Linked DNA regions of Homo sapiens: regions 1, 2 and 4 are each linked to region 3. Evidence: promoter capture Hi-C in 16 types of primary human blood cells and fetal thymus (Javierre and others, 2016). All regions are on one chromosome and are shown on one strand. Each heading gives the region's core, a stretch centred on a gene start or on the middle of the fragment in contact. The rest is flanking DNA. Distances are from core to core; before and after follow the strand shown.

The links. The method cuts DNA at HindIII sites, captures the fragments that hold promoters and counts their contacts. A CHiCAGO score of 5 or more calls a contact.
Region 1: the fragment with the promoter of TCAIM here is called in contact with the fragment with the promoter of KIAA1143 in region 3 in 2 of 17 cell types (monocytes and neutrophils); the score reaches 5.7 in monocytes.
Region 2: a fragment that was not itself captured here is called in contact with the fragment with the promoter of KIAA1143 in region 3 in 1 of 17 cell types (neutrophils); the score reaches 5.2 in neutrophils.
Region 4: a contact is called between a fragment that was not itself captured here and the fragment with the promoter of KIAA1143 in region 3, in 2 of 17 cell types (neutrophils and erythroblasts). The highest score is 5.2, in neutrophils.

The regions. Positions count from the first base shown.
Region 1 is chr3:44,337,511-44,340,210 of GRCh38, reverse strand. It overlaps TCAIM (T cell activation inhibitor, mitochondrial), which reads right to left and starts at 1,445. Exons shown (of 11, transcript NM_173826.4): 1 at 1,377-1,445. It overlaps LOC105377055 (a long non-coding RNA gene), which reads left to right and starts at 2,093. Exons shown (of 4, transcript XR_940782.4): 1 at 2,093-2,506. RefSeq lists a silencer at 1,395-1,784 and enhancers at 1,925-2,094, 1,779-2,432. The HindIII fragment of the contact is 5,445 bases long and covers 1-2,700 here.
Region 2 is chr3:44,356,334-44,359,180 of GRCh38, reverse strand. It overlaps TCAIM (T cell activation inhibitor, mitochondrial), which reads right to left. Exons shown (of 11, transcript NM_173826.4): 3 at 1,305-1,440. Among named protein-coding and RNA genes, the nearest start is that of TCAIM, 19 kb to the right of the region's middle. The HindIII fragment of the contact is 2,512 bases long and covers 139-2,650 here.
Region 3 is chr3:44,760,270-44,762,969 of GRCh38, reverse strand. KIAA1143 reads left to right here and starts at 1,351. Exons shown (of 3, transcript NM_020696.4): 1 at 1,351-1,475. The coding sequence starts at 1,368. KIF15 (kinesin family member 15) reads right to left here and starts at 1,176. Exons shown (of 35, transcript NM_020242.3): 1 at 1,086-1,176. The coding sequence starts at 1,104. RefSeq lists enhancers at 1,126-1,405, 2,196-2,700. The HindIII fragment of the contact is 21,704 bases long and covers 1-2,700 here.
Region 4 is chr3:44,319,154-44,321,959 of GRCh38, reverse strand. It overlaps TOPAZ1 (testis and ovary specific TOPAZ 1), which reads right to left. Exons shown (of 20, transcript NM_001145030.2): 17 at 769-933. Among named protein-coding and RNA genes, the nearest start is that of TCAIM, 18 kb to the left of the region's middle. The HindIII fragment of the contact is 1,680 bases long and covers 468-2,147 here.

The sequences.
Region 1 (2,700 bases), core at 196-2,695, 420 kb after region 3:
AGCTACACAGAAAATCAAATTACTATCAGCTGACTGAAGACACATTGCTTCAGAGTAGAGTTGGGTGCTCTCATTCAGACACTAGCTCCAAAAGTCTGGGACATCCACATCAACCGCAGGCTTCTCGTCTTCAGATAAATTCTTACATAGGTGGTTCCTGTCCATACTGCACTTAGCCCACTATACTTCCACTTGGAAAATGCTATAAAATAACTGAAGAGGTTGCACTGTCTTATCACACTTGGGAGGCATACCGAGTCTTTAACTCACCCATTCATCACCACTTATGGGCCAGGTCCTGCGTAAAGCATTGGGACTAGAAAATTATTAAGACAATTCTAATACTCAAAAGACTTTTAGAGGGAGGGGGGAGTGTAAAAACAGACACAAGCAGATAAGTATAAAACAACGCAGTAAATGCAATAATACAAACATGCACAGAATATGAGAAACTCCCAGACGCAACACTTGGAATGGGGCGGGGAGAGCTCAGGAAGGTCTTCTCTAAGGAAATGGTGCCTTTCCTGGAAGAGGGCAGAGGACCGGGAAGGATAAAATTTATTTACAAACCATTGTAAATGACTACTTTAATCTACTTAACAGTGATATTAGTTTCTGTTTCATAAAGTGAAAATTTCTAATTTTACCTAAAATCTGTTCTAAGTGAGGCATTAAATCTGTGCAGTTTCAAACCAAATTTGGTGGAAAGATACCTAAATCAGTGAAAAATCCAAATTATGGAAGAGTACACGAAAAACGGTTTTGTTTTGCTTACTTTCAACTAACACCGAGTGTGTGCCAAATAGAGCTCTCAGGATTGAGCTTTGACCATTTGGCACAACTTTTATTTGAAAGTAATTTATTTTAACAAAATTAATATCATGCCACTCTCATTTGAACTGTGACTTCCCTTAGTGACTATCTTGTACGGTTTCTGAAAGCAGTTTGTTATATCAAGGAGGGACAAAAGCGGTAATTTTCATGGCTTTTCAGTTGAATATGAACTTCTTAGAGTAGGGGAAAAAGGCAAAGAAAAAGAGCAAAAGCAGGAAATGCTATTAGATACATTAGCCTAGATTCTGTAGCTTCCTTTTCTAAATCTCGCTATATGAGATTTAGTACGTAACAATTTCCCGTAAATCAAAGACCTCGGAAAAATATAAGTCGGAAACAATAAAACCTAAATCGTCTTTGCGTTCTCATTTCACAGCGAGTTAAAATGTAGATGCGATGCGGATACTGCGTCCCCTGGCACTGCCTCAATTCAAAAGTTAGCACTTTGCGCTAAGGTGGCTCTGAGCACTCCCCTCCGACCCCGCTTCCCCCCTAGAGGAGCATGAATGCACCACCGGAGCCCCTCCCCTCTTGCTCCTTACAGTTCTGGCAAGGGTCCGACGCGAGGGCTTTGTCCGACTAGTTCCACCTCCCACCCAGTACACCAGAAGGGAGGACAGTCGCTCCGCCCGCAGGGCTGTTCGGACGCGCATGCGCACTGGGGCGTCAGCTGGCCAACCAGCGCGCGACGCACGGCCAGGCGCTCCCACCTGCCCTCGCCCCGGTGGGCGACAGGCTTTGACGGGCTCCTAGCCGCAGTGCCCTCTGAGCCCCCAACCCTGAATTCTCAGCTGGGCCCTCCCGGCTCCACCTGCCCCCAACACCCTCCCCGCTCCGGCGGCGGCAGGGCGCTCGAGGCAAGCCCGGGCAGGGGGACGAGCTGCAGGTGACGCCCTGGTTGGCTGGAGCGTGCCAGGCCTTCCCCCTACGGCGCCTGCGCACAGCCAGGGCGTGGATTCAACCTTCCGCGGTGCCCTGCCTCTAGCTGACGTCAGCACCCTGGTAACTGCTGCACCTTCGCCGCGCGCTTTGAGCCCCCGCCCCTCCGCCTTCTTACCGGCCGCCCTGAGGGGTCTCGGCGCGCTCGGCTGAGAGCTTTAGGAGGCGCGAGCGAGCACTCCGACTAGGCCGGAGGGACTCGGAAAATGATGGTCCGGCAGGTGGTGGGTCCTGACCCAAGGGCCTGCAAGGAACGGAGAAGGGCAACCGAGCACGCGCTGGATCTTGGGGAAGAAGGGGAAAGGGACTGCTGGAGGAGGCGCGCATGCGCCGTGCGGTCCTTCGCCCCGGGCGCCCTGGCAGGGGGCGAGGCTCTGCGGAACTCCCGGAGCTGGCGCCAGGGAACAAGTCTCAGTGGAGAGCCTCGAATTTTAAAAGTCTCATTTAAGTATTTCTTTTGGTTTTCCTTGTATAAATATAGCTAACTTTTAAACATTTCTTTTCCGGCTTGTGTTGTTTGCTTTGGACCCTTCAGCACCTATTTTTAAACGTTAAGCATTCCCCAGTCAGCATGAAAGTTTTACTGTTAGTTTTATTTTGTTCCTATAATTTTGATTCCCCCCAGAAACTGCCACAGATGAAATCAAGCCAATAGAATTGAAAGCAAAGATCACCTGGTGGCCATGAAGCCGACCATCCTTAGGCAGAAACTCCTTACCTGAGGAATTTAGAGGTAACTAGACTTCCCTGTTACCTAAAGCCAGCATCTGGTACCAGACTTCTTCCCTCCAAATTTAAAAGTAACTAGAATTTCTATGCATCTCCGTAATGCACGCATGTCAAAACTCATTGTGCACCCCTTGCCATCTGCTCCATGCCCCAATCAACCCCTGTCCCCTACCATCCAGATACTTTATTACCCTCACA
Region 2 (2,847 bases), core at 145-2,644, 400 kb after region 3:
TTCCTGGGCTCAAGTAATCCTCCTGCCTCAGCCTCCCTAGTAGCTGGGACTACAGGTGTGCCACCATGCCCTGCTGCATACAGAAGTCTTAATTAAAAAAAATACATTGGTAGAATAATATTAAAGTATTACTAAGCTTGATTTTTCTATACATTTTGAATTTAAAAACTTTATTAATGCATCCCCGAGTTAATGAATATTTTTCTGTTGATTCAATTTACTGATTACTTTGAAAAGTTCTGACTTTGAGTAGCCAACATATCACATATCATAATCAGAATATTTTCCTAGAAGCAAAAAAGCAAAATAGATTTTCCATTGCAAGTAGAAAAAAATAACGATGTTCTAATTTTCAAGATTTCAAGTTCCTTTTCATATTAAACTAGATATCAGTGTTAATGAAAATAGAAGGAACACTGAAGTAATTCCAAAGCATGTGGCTTTGTAATACATAGCAGTCCCTTGGTATCCATAGGGGATTGGTTCCAGGACCTCCCGTGGATACCGAAATCTGCGAATGCTCAAGTCTCTCATATAAAATAGTGTAGTATTTGCAAATAACCTATGTGTATCCTCCCATATACTTTAAGTCATTTCTAGATTACTTATAATATCTAATATAATGTAAGTGCTATGTAAGTAGTTGTTATCCTGTGTTGTTCAGGGAATAATGACAAGAAAGAGAAGTTTGTTCATGTGTAGTACAGATGTATTTTTTTCCCCTAATATTTTCAGTCTGAGGTTGGTTGAATCCATGGATGTAAAACCCATGGATATGAAGGACTGACTGTATTTTCTAATGTTAAAATATATTGACTGTCTTAACTACATCTACCATAAGTCATTTTTCATATCAGTTTGTATTCCTGGAGCACACATTAACTGATGTTGTAGGGGAGTGGTCCAGCAGCATGCATCATAAGGAAAAATCACTAGGGCATTGAAAACTCTTCCATGTATCATCCTTAAAAAAAAAAAAGAGAGAGAGATTGATCATGATAATAAAGGTCTCAAGTTTTCTTTCAAACCCTCAACTGTACTTCAAAAATTGGTACCAAAAACATGATTACTAGTACTCTAAAGAGTTTAAATGACAGCTTTATTGCCTGCACAAAACAATGACAGCTTTCATAAAAAAAGCTCTATTTTCAATTTTCAGTATCTACATTTCAAATTAGTTCAAAGCATTGATTATATCACCACAACAGAATAATCCACATTTATAGAACTCTATGTATTATATTGTATCAAAGGTAAATAAGCAGAAATGTACACTAATGGTTTAAAAATAAATAAATGTTTACCCTTTCTACGGGGTGCTGTCCAAAGAAATCTGGATGTACTGCAAAATAGAAAGGCCTCAAGGCATTGACTGCTTCAGCTCCCGATAAAGCTCTTGAAAAGGGAAACCAGTGTGGAAATATCTTCTCTAGACATAACCTTTTAAAAAGATGTGGACTGGTTATTCATTGAGGCACTCACACACACACAAATCCTCAATGTATAAGTGACAATAAAACTAAACGTACTATGCACAGCAGAAACAAGATAGATACTTTGTGGTTTTCTGAAATCTATTAGTTTTACAAGCAGTGAGTACCACATGGTTTCTAAAACAGTGGTTATAAATTTTTCTGGTGCAAAATGAGAAATATTAAATAACATAATAATTTCCCCTCAATACTCCACTTTGAAATTCAGCTGACTTCACTGCAAATGATAACAATTTTCTTTATAAGTTTCTTATTCAGATCAAAAAATCTTAATATCCAATAGTGTAATTCTCTTTCTATATATATCTGTCTATATCTATCTCTTTCTCTCTTTTTTTCTTTCAGACAGAGTCTTGCTTTGTTGCCCAGGCTGGAGTGCAGCGGTGTGATCTCCGGGGGTCAAGTGATCCTCCCACCTTACCCTCCCAAGTAGCTGGAACTACAGGCACGTGCCACCACACCCAACTAATTCTTTTGCTGATCTCAAACTGCTGGCCTCAAGTAATACTCCTGCCTTACCCTCTCAAAGCAATGGGATTACAGTCATGAGCCACCATGCCTGGCTCAATTTTTTCTTTATAGTAGCAAACATTTTGATAATTATTATACTTAAAAAGAGATACAGATGTCTTTTAGTTCATTCCCTCATTATTAGCATGCTAAAATTATACTAGTTGGATAACTTGATATTCTCATTCTTTTTTTTTGAGATGGAGTCTTGCTCTGTTGCCCAGGCTGGAGTGCAGTGGCATGATCTTGGCTCACTGCATGCAATCTTCTGCCTCTCAGGTTCAAGTGACTCTCCTGCCTCAGCCTCCCGAGTAGCTGGGACTACAGGCATGTGCCACTACCGCCGACTGTTTTTTTTTTTTTTTTGTATTTTTAGTAGAGACAGGGTCTCACCATGTTGGTCAGGCTGGTCTCAAACTCCTGACCTCAGGTAATCCACCCGCCTCAGCCTCCCAAAGTACTGGGATTGCAGGCATGAGCCACCATACCTGGCCGTGATATTCTCATTCTTAAGTTTTGTAACCCACCTGGGAGTGTTTTTTAAAAGTACGGTGTTTAAATCCAAATGAAATTATTTGCGGTTTTTTGAAAGCACTTCCACGACACCTATTTTTAAATGTTATAATTTACCTTTTCCATCCTAAGCTTTTTTTTTTGAGACAGAGTCTCACTCTGTTGCCCTGGCTGGAGTGCAGTGGCATGATCTTGGCTCAACCTCTGTACCCTGGGTTCAAGCAATTCTCCTGCCTCAGCCTTGCAAGTAGCTGGGATTACAGGTGCACGCCACCGTGCCCAGTTAATTTTTGCATTTTTAGTAGAGACGGTGTTTCGCCATGTTGGCCCA
Region 3 (2,700 bases), core at 102-2,601:
TGAGTCCAGATTTAGTGACTGATCCATAAAGTGGAAACAAAGAACAAACAGTATGATTGTTCAGAAAGCAGGATGAACATTTCTCTCCAATAAGGTACCATTTTGTGAGCTCATAGTCCTTGAATACTGAAAATGATGAAAGGAAAAGGAATATTTTATATGCAAAAAGGTAGCATAAGGAGGTGTTCCGATTAGGTGTGATCGACCTAAAAGATTAATGAAACAACAAACCCATCAAAAACGACTACAATTGACAGAAAGCTAGAAACATTAACGGCGTTGGAAAGCTCAAATGACAGAAGTTCACAAATTCTTAATCATCTAATCCAGGCCTCTCCTCATTACCATTCAGACCACTCACAAAGATCCCATTAAATCAGCTCATAATCAGGTTTACAAAAATAAGACTCCTTAAGAGATGTGGCAATGTGAGAAGTGGAGCACGTACACAGGCACAGCAAATGACTACGTTAGTGAAAACTGTAGGGTTTATCATAAGCAAAATGACAGTGCTCTCCTCCGTGAAAAAGAGAAAGAAATCGGACGGGTCTCCTTTAAGTGAAAATAGAGACTGTGAGAACATAAAGACATTGCTGACATCTGTGTTTTAACATTCCATTTATTTAAGGAAAGAGGAGAAAGAAATGTTTGGAATATAAATAAACCCTTCCCTATAGGAAGGTCAGAAATGTAGAAATACGCAGAAGCTGGTGGGAGCAAAAGCCGATCCTGAGACAAGGATATCTAGAGAGGTAGCCCTGGTCGGGATGTGGGAAGAGGCCTGCGAAGAAACAGCAGAACCAAGGGAAAGAAAGGGAAGAACGTCAGGTCCACTGCTCATCCCGAGCGCCTAGAACTGCGCCAGACTCCTGGCATGCGCACAGGACACTGAAGGAAGGGATGAGCTTTTCGGCTAGCGTATTGTCTTTGAGCGACAGAGCGGGATTCCCAAACGTCCCCGCCGGTCACTCAGCTCCTGCAGTTCATGCCTAGCAAGAACCTTGCGGGCGGTCCGAGGCTGCCATCCTTTCACAGCTGTATTTGGGGGCAAAAATAGGGTAACGAAGCCGGGGGCCCAGACTTACTTTTGCAGCCGGGTGCCATAGCGCCCTCACCCCTCGATCCCGAAAACAATGCAGCCGGTGCCTCCACCTCCCGACTGCACCGCGCGCGACTGAATTCCGCCCGCTCAAGATGGCCGCAAATTTGAATTTGGCGCTTGGATCGGACGTTGACGCCCGCATGGAGGCCGCCATGTTGCCCGGCCTACGCATCGGGGGCGTGGCCCAGTGACGTCACAGCTAAGCGCCTCTGTATCGTCGCGAATCCGTCGCGGAACCTGTCTTCTGTCTTTACCCAGAGCTACCATGAGCAAGCGGAACCAGGTATCGTACGTGCGGCCAGCCGAGCCGGCGTTTCTGGCCCGCTTCAAGGAACGGGTCGGCTACAGGGAGGGACCCACCGTAGAGACTAAGGTGAGCCTTCGCCAGTCGTGTTTCTTCGGAAGCGCAGCCAGCCCGCCACTTTCAACTTTTGCCTCTACTTGGAGGGTGGGTGCTGTCGGGTCCCTCTTTTCACCCGCGCTCGAACCCAATTCCGGTGGAACTCGGACCCCCAGGCTGGTTCTTTTCAAGCGACCACAGCCCCCTACGCCCAGGAAGCTCTGTAGTTTTCAGAGCGCTGCTGTGTTCCTGAAAATGAACTGACGTGTAAACCACCTGGTCCTTGGTAGATGGTAAAGAAAGATCACTTTATTGTCTCTTCTTTCTCACTTGTTTACCTCAAAAGCTGTGAGTTCGCAGGGTGAGTTAGAGTTACAGCGTCGTCCCGTATTCCAGATAAGGACACAGGCCACTCGATCAAATGACCCCCGCCCCAACCATGTCCTAGGACTCGAGTCTGGAACGTCTTCGGAGGAATGTCCTGAATCTGTTTCTATGCTTTGTTAATTAAAAATAAATAAAAATAATATAGAGAAGGTCGGGCACAGTGGCTCACGCCTGTAATCCCAGTACTTTGGGAGGCCTAGGTGGGCGGATCACCTGAGGTCAGGAGTTCGAGACCAGCAGAGCCAATAGCCAATATGGTGAAACCCCCCGTCTCTGCTAAAAATACAAAAATTAGCCGGGCATGGTGGCACATGCCTGTAGTCCCAGCTACTCCGGAGGCTGAGACAGAATCGCTCGAACCCGGGAGGTGGACGTTGCAGTGAGTTGAGATGGCGCAGCTGCACTCCAGCCTGGACAACAGAGCGAGACTCCGTCTCAAAAAAAAAAAAAAAAAGCCGGGCCTGGTGGCTCACGCCTGTAATCCCAGCGCTCTGGGAGGCTGAGGCGGCAGATCACGAGGTCAGGAGATCGAGACCATCCTGGCTAAAACAGTGAAACCGCGTCTCTACTAAAAATACAAAAAATTAGCCAGGCATGGTGGCGGGCGCCTGTAGTCCCAGCTACTCGGGAGGCTGAGGCAGGAGAATGGCGTGAACCCAGGAGGAGGAGCTTGCAGTGAGCCGAGATCGCGCCACTGCACTCCAGACTGGGCGACAGAGCGAGACTCCGTCTCAAAAAAAAGAAAAAAAAGAAGAGTAAGCAGAAGCCGTAAATATCCTGGGTCTAAATAGAAGAAGAGGAGCTTCAGGAAAGAGCCACACCTGACTATTGTTGTCTAGGGCCGGAGGGATCAGTATTGAACACATGAATG
Region 4 (2,806 bases), core at 58-2,557, 440 kb after region 3:
ATCTGTCCAATCTCCCTATTACTACTTTGTTTCATTACCAACTAATTGTATATTAAGAGATTGCTAGATAGCAGCCATTGGGCCAGGAATACCAAGGTAAAGAAAATAGTACCATCCTGATTGAGCTCACTTTGTATAAGGAGAAACAGATAAGAATGCTCATTACAATACAGGAGCACAGTGGAATTAAGTGGAAAAATGAAAATTTATAGATAGTACGATGAAAGTACTGAGGGGAGGCCCTCAGGTTAACGTTTTCGTCATCCTCTGAACCTATCACATAGCTCATTCTTGACCCAAAGCTTTTGCTCATGGACACCCAACATTCAAGAGTACTGACTACCATTTCCCACATTGGCGTTTGAACTTGGCATCTGTTTCACTTCCTCCATTTCTTTCAAGTTTACCTGTGTTCCTAGGTAATGTAAACTAAGTTCTGTATTTATTCAGTGATAAGAGAAAAAGCTTGCTCAGGGCATTTAAACATATTGTTTGCTGATGACTTGACAGAAGTAGGGAAAAGGGAATGATAAAAATGCTTGTCTTAGGAACTGCTGACAAACAACCCAAAGATAAGCATCTCAGATTTTTTTAAACCATCAGGAAAGTATATTCAATTTGCAGAGAACATATTTTACAGAAAACTACTTCATTAAAAAATATGCTGGAATATAAAACTCAATCAAAACAGGTGGATAACTATTTCTTATTAACAGTTAAACACCAGATGGGCAAGAGATAATTAAGATAGACTTTTAAAAAACATACCTTGGGAATTTTGAAAACCTGGTAGATTCTGCAAAACTTCAAATGTCTGTCTATAAAGGCTCTTGGCTAAGATTTCATGTGCAATTGTACAGAGTAAATTATGTCGATTAAGCACATCCAGTCTATCACAAGGCCACAGAGGCGTATTGATTATCCACTCTGACTCTTCCAAAAAGAAAAAAATATGAATAGTTTATACCATGAAAATGACACTTAACAGTATAATCACAACTAATGTTTCAATATATCTTTTGAAGAAACAGGCAAAACTTAAACATATGTACTCAGAGAAGATAACCATGGCTCAAATTTATTAGAAATAACTTATATAGTGATGATCATCATCTGAAGAAGATGCAAACAAATGGCCACTTTGTTATATTTATTTTTAATTAATTCTTCATCTAAGTGTACTAGTCAATTACTAATTTTAAATGTTTATTTTTATATAAAAAAGTTCAGATTATCACAAATATTTGCTTTAACATAAAATATTATTTATGTGGACAAGTTTAACAATTTCACAATAAATAATTTAATTAGTTTTTGGTATTACTGGGGAATAGCTTTTCTTTTCTTTTCTTTTTTTGAGATGGAGTCTCACTCTGTCACCCAGGCTGGAGTGCAGTGCAGTGGCGCAATCTTGGCTCACTGCAACCTCCGCCTCCCGGGTTCAAGTGATTCTCCTGCCTCAGCCTCCTGAGTAGCTGGGACTACAGGCGCGTGCCACCACACCTGGCTAAATTTTTTGTATGTTAAGTAGAGACGGAGTTTCGCTGTGTCAGCCAGGACAGTCTCGATCTCTTGACCTTGTGATTGGCCCACCTTGGCCTCCCAAAGTGCTGGGATTACAGGCATGAGCCACTGCGCCCGACCAGCGAATAGCTTTTCTTAACACTTTCTATTTTAAAAACAATTTCTATTATGAAATCGTTGTTGTATACAGAAGAATAATATATGTTATAAAAGCATAATAATAAAATTAACTCCTGTGTACCCATCACACCCACCTACGACCCTCAAACCAACAGACCTCAGACCCTCTTTAAAAAAAGAGAATATTACCTATAATGCTGAAGTTCCTTAATTTCTGCTCTGATTTTCACATTGAGAAAAACAATGGGAGACTGTAGTACAGAACACTGAGGTACTAAAATGTTAGAAATGTCAATATTTTATCATTTACCTAATTTACTCAATCATTATACACATAGTGAAACATTACTATATGTAACATTCAAATCATATTTTGGTGCTCTTTTTCAACTGAACTAAATGTAGAAGTAATCCTTTTATTTTGTGGCCTTCCTAGCACAGTGAATATAAAAAGTATTGAAGAAAAAGTTGATAATTCAAATATATCATGACAAAAGAAAGCTTTTAGTATCCAGTATAAAGCTTTAAAAAGGAGCTTTTCAATTACTAGAGCCCATGTGATTGACTGATTGACCTAACAGAGTTATACTATGTGTTAGGAATGTTCTAAGTGCTTTAAGAATATTAACTCATTTAGACAGATACTTTCATTAATTTGCTTCTACATTTGCTGACATTTTAATATAGAGAGAAATGTAAATGAATTTAATATCTTCAAAGACTGTATGATCATCTGTTAAACATAATTCCCATTAAAAGTAAAACTGTTCGTTCACCATTCCTTATAAAGTGAATTTTACTTTGATTGAATAAGTTCAATTATTTTTTATCTGTTAGATATATCCCATGTACAAAAAGTAGATTATATAAACCTTTTCTCATAAAAATTGCATCATTTTTCTTTAATACTTATTCTTTATATTTAAGGTAGGGTAATGGTCACATTTTTTGGAAAGTATATATGGTATTTTAGGAGATTCATTTAAAATTTTTATCAAACTGTTTAGGTATATAAAAAAATCTGACCTAGCATGCTCTCTCCCCACATCATCTCCCTGTCTGGGTTTTTGTTTTTTTCTGTGTTGCCATCTTTTTTAAAAACCTGTTCAGTGTTGCCAATCAACCAACGGTCTGTGAGGGGCAGCATGGGATCAGGCAGCAG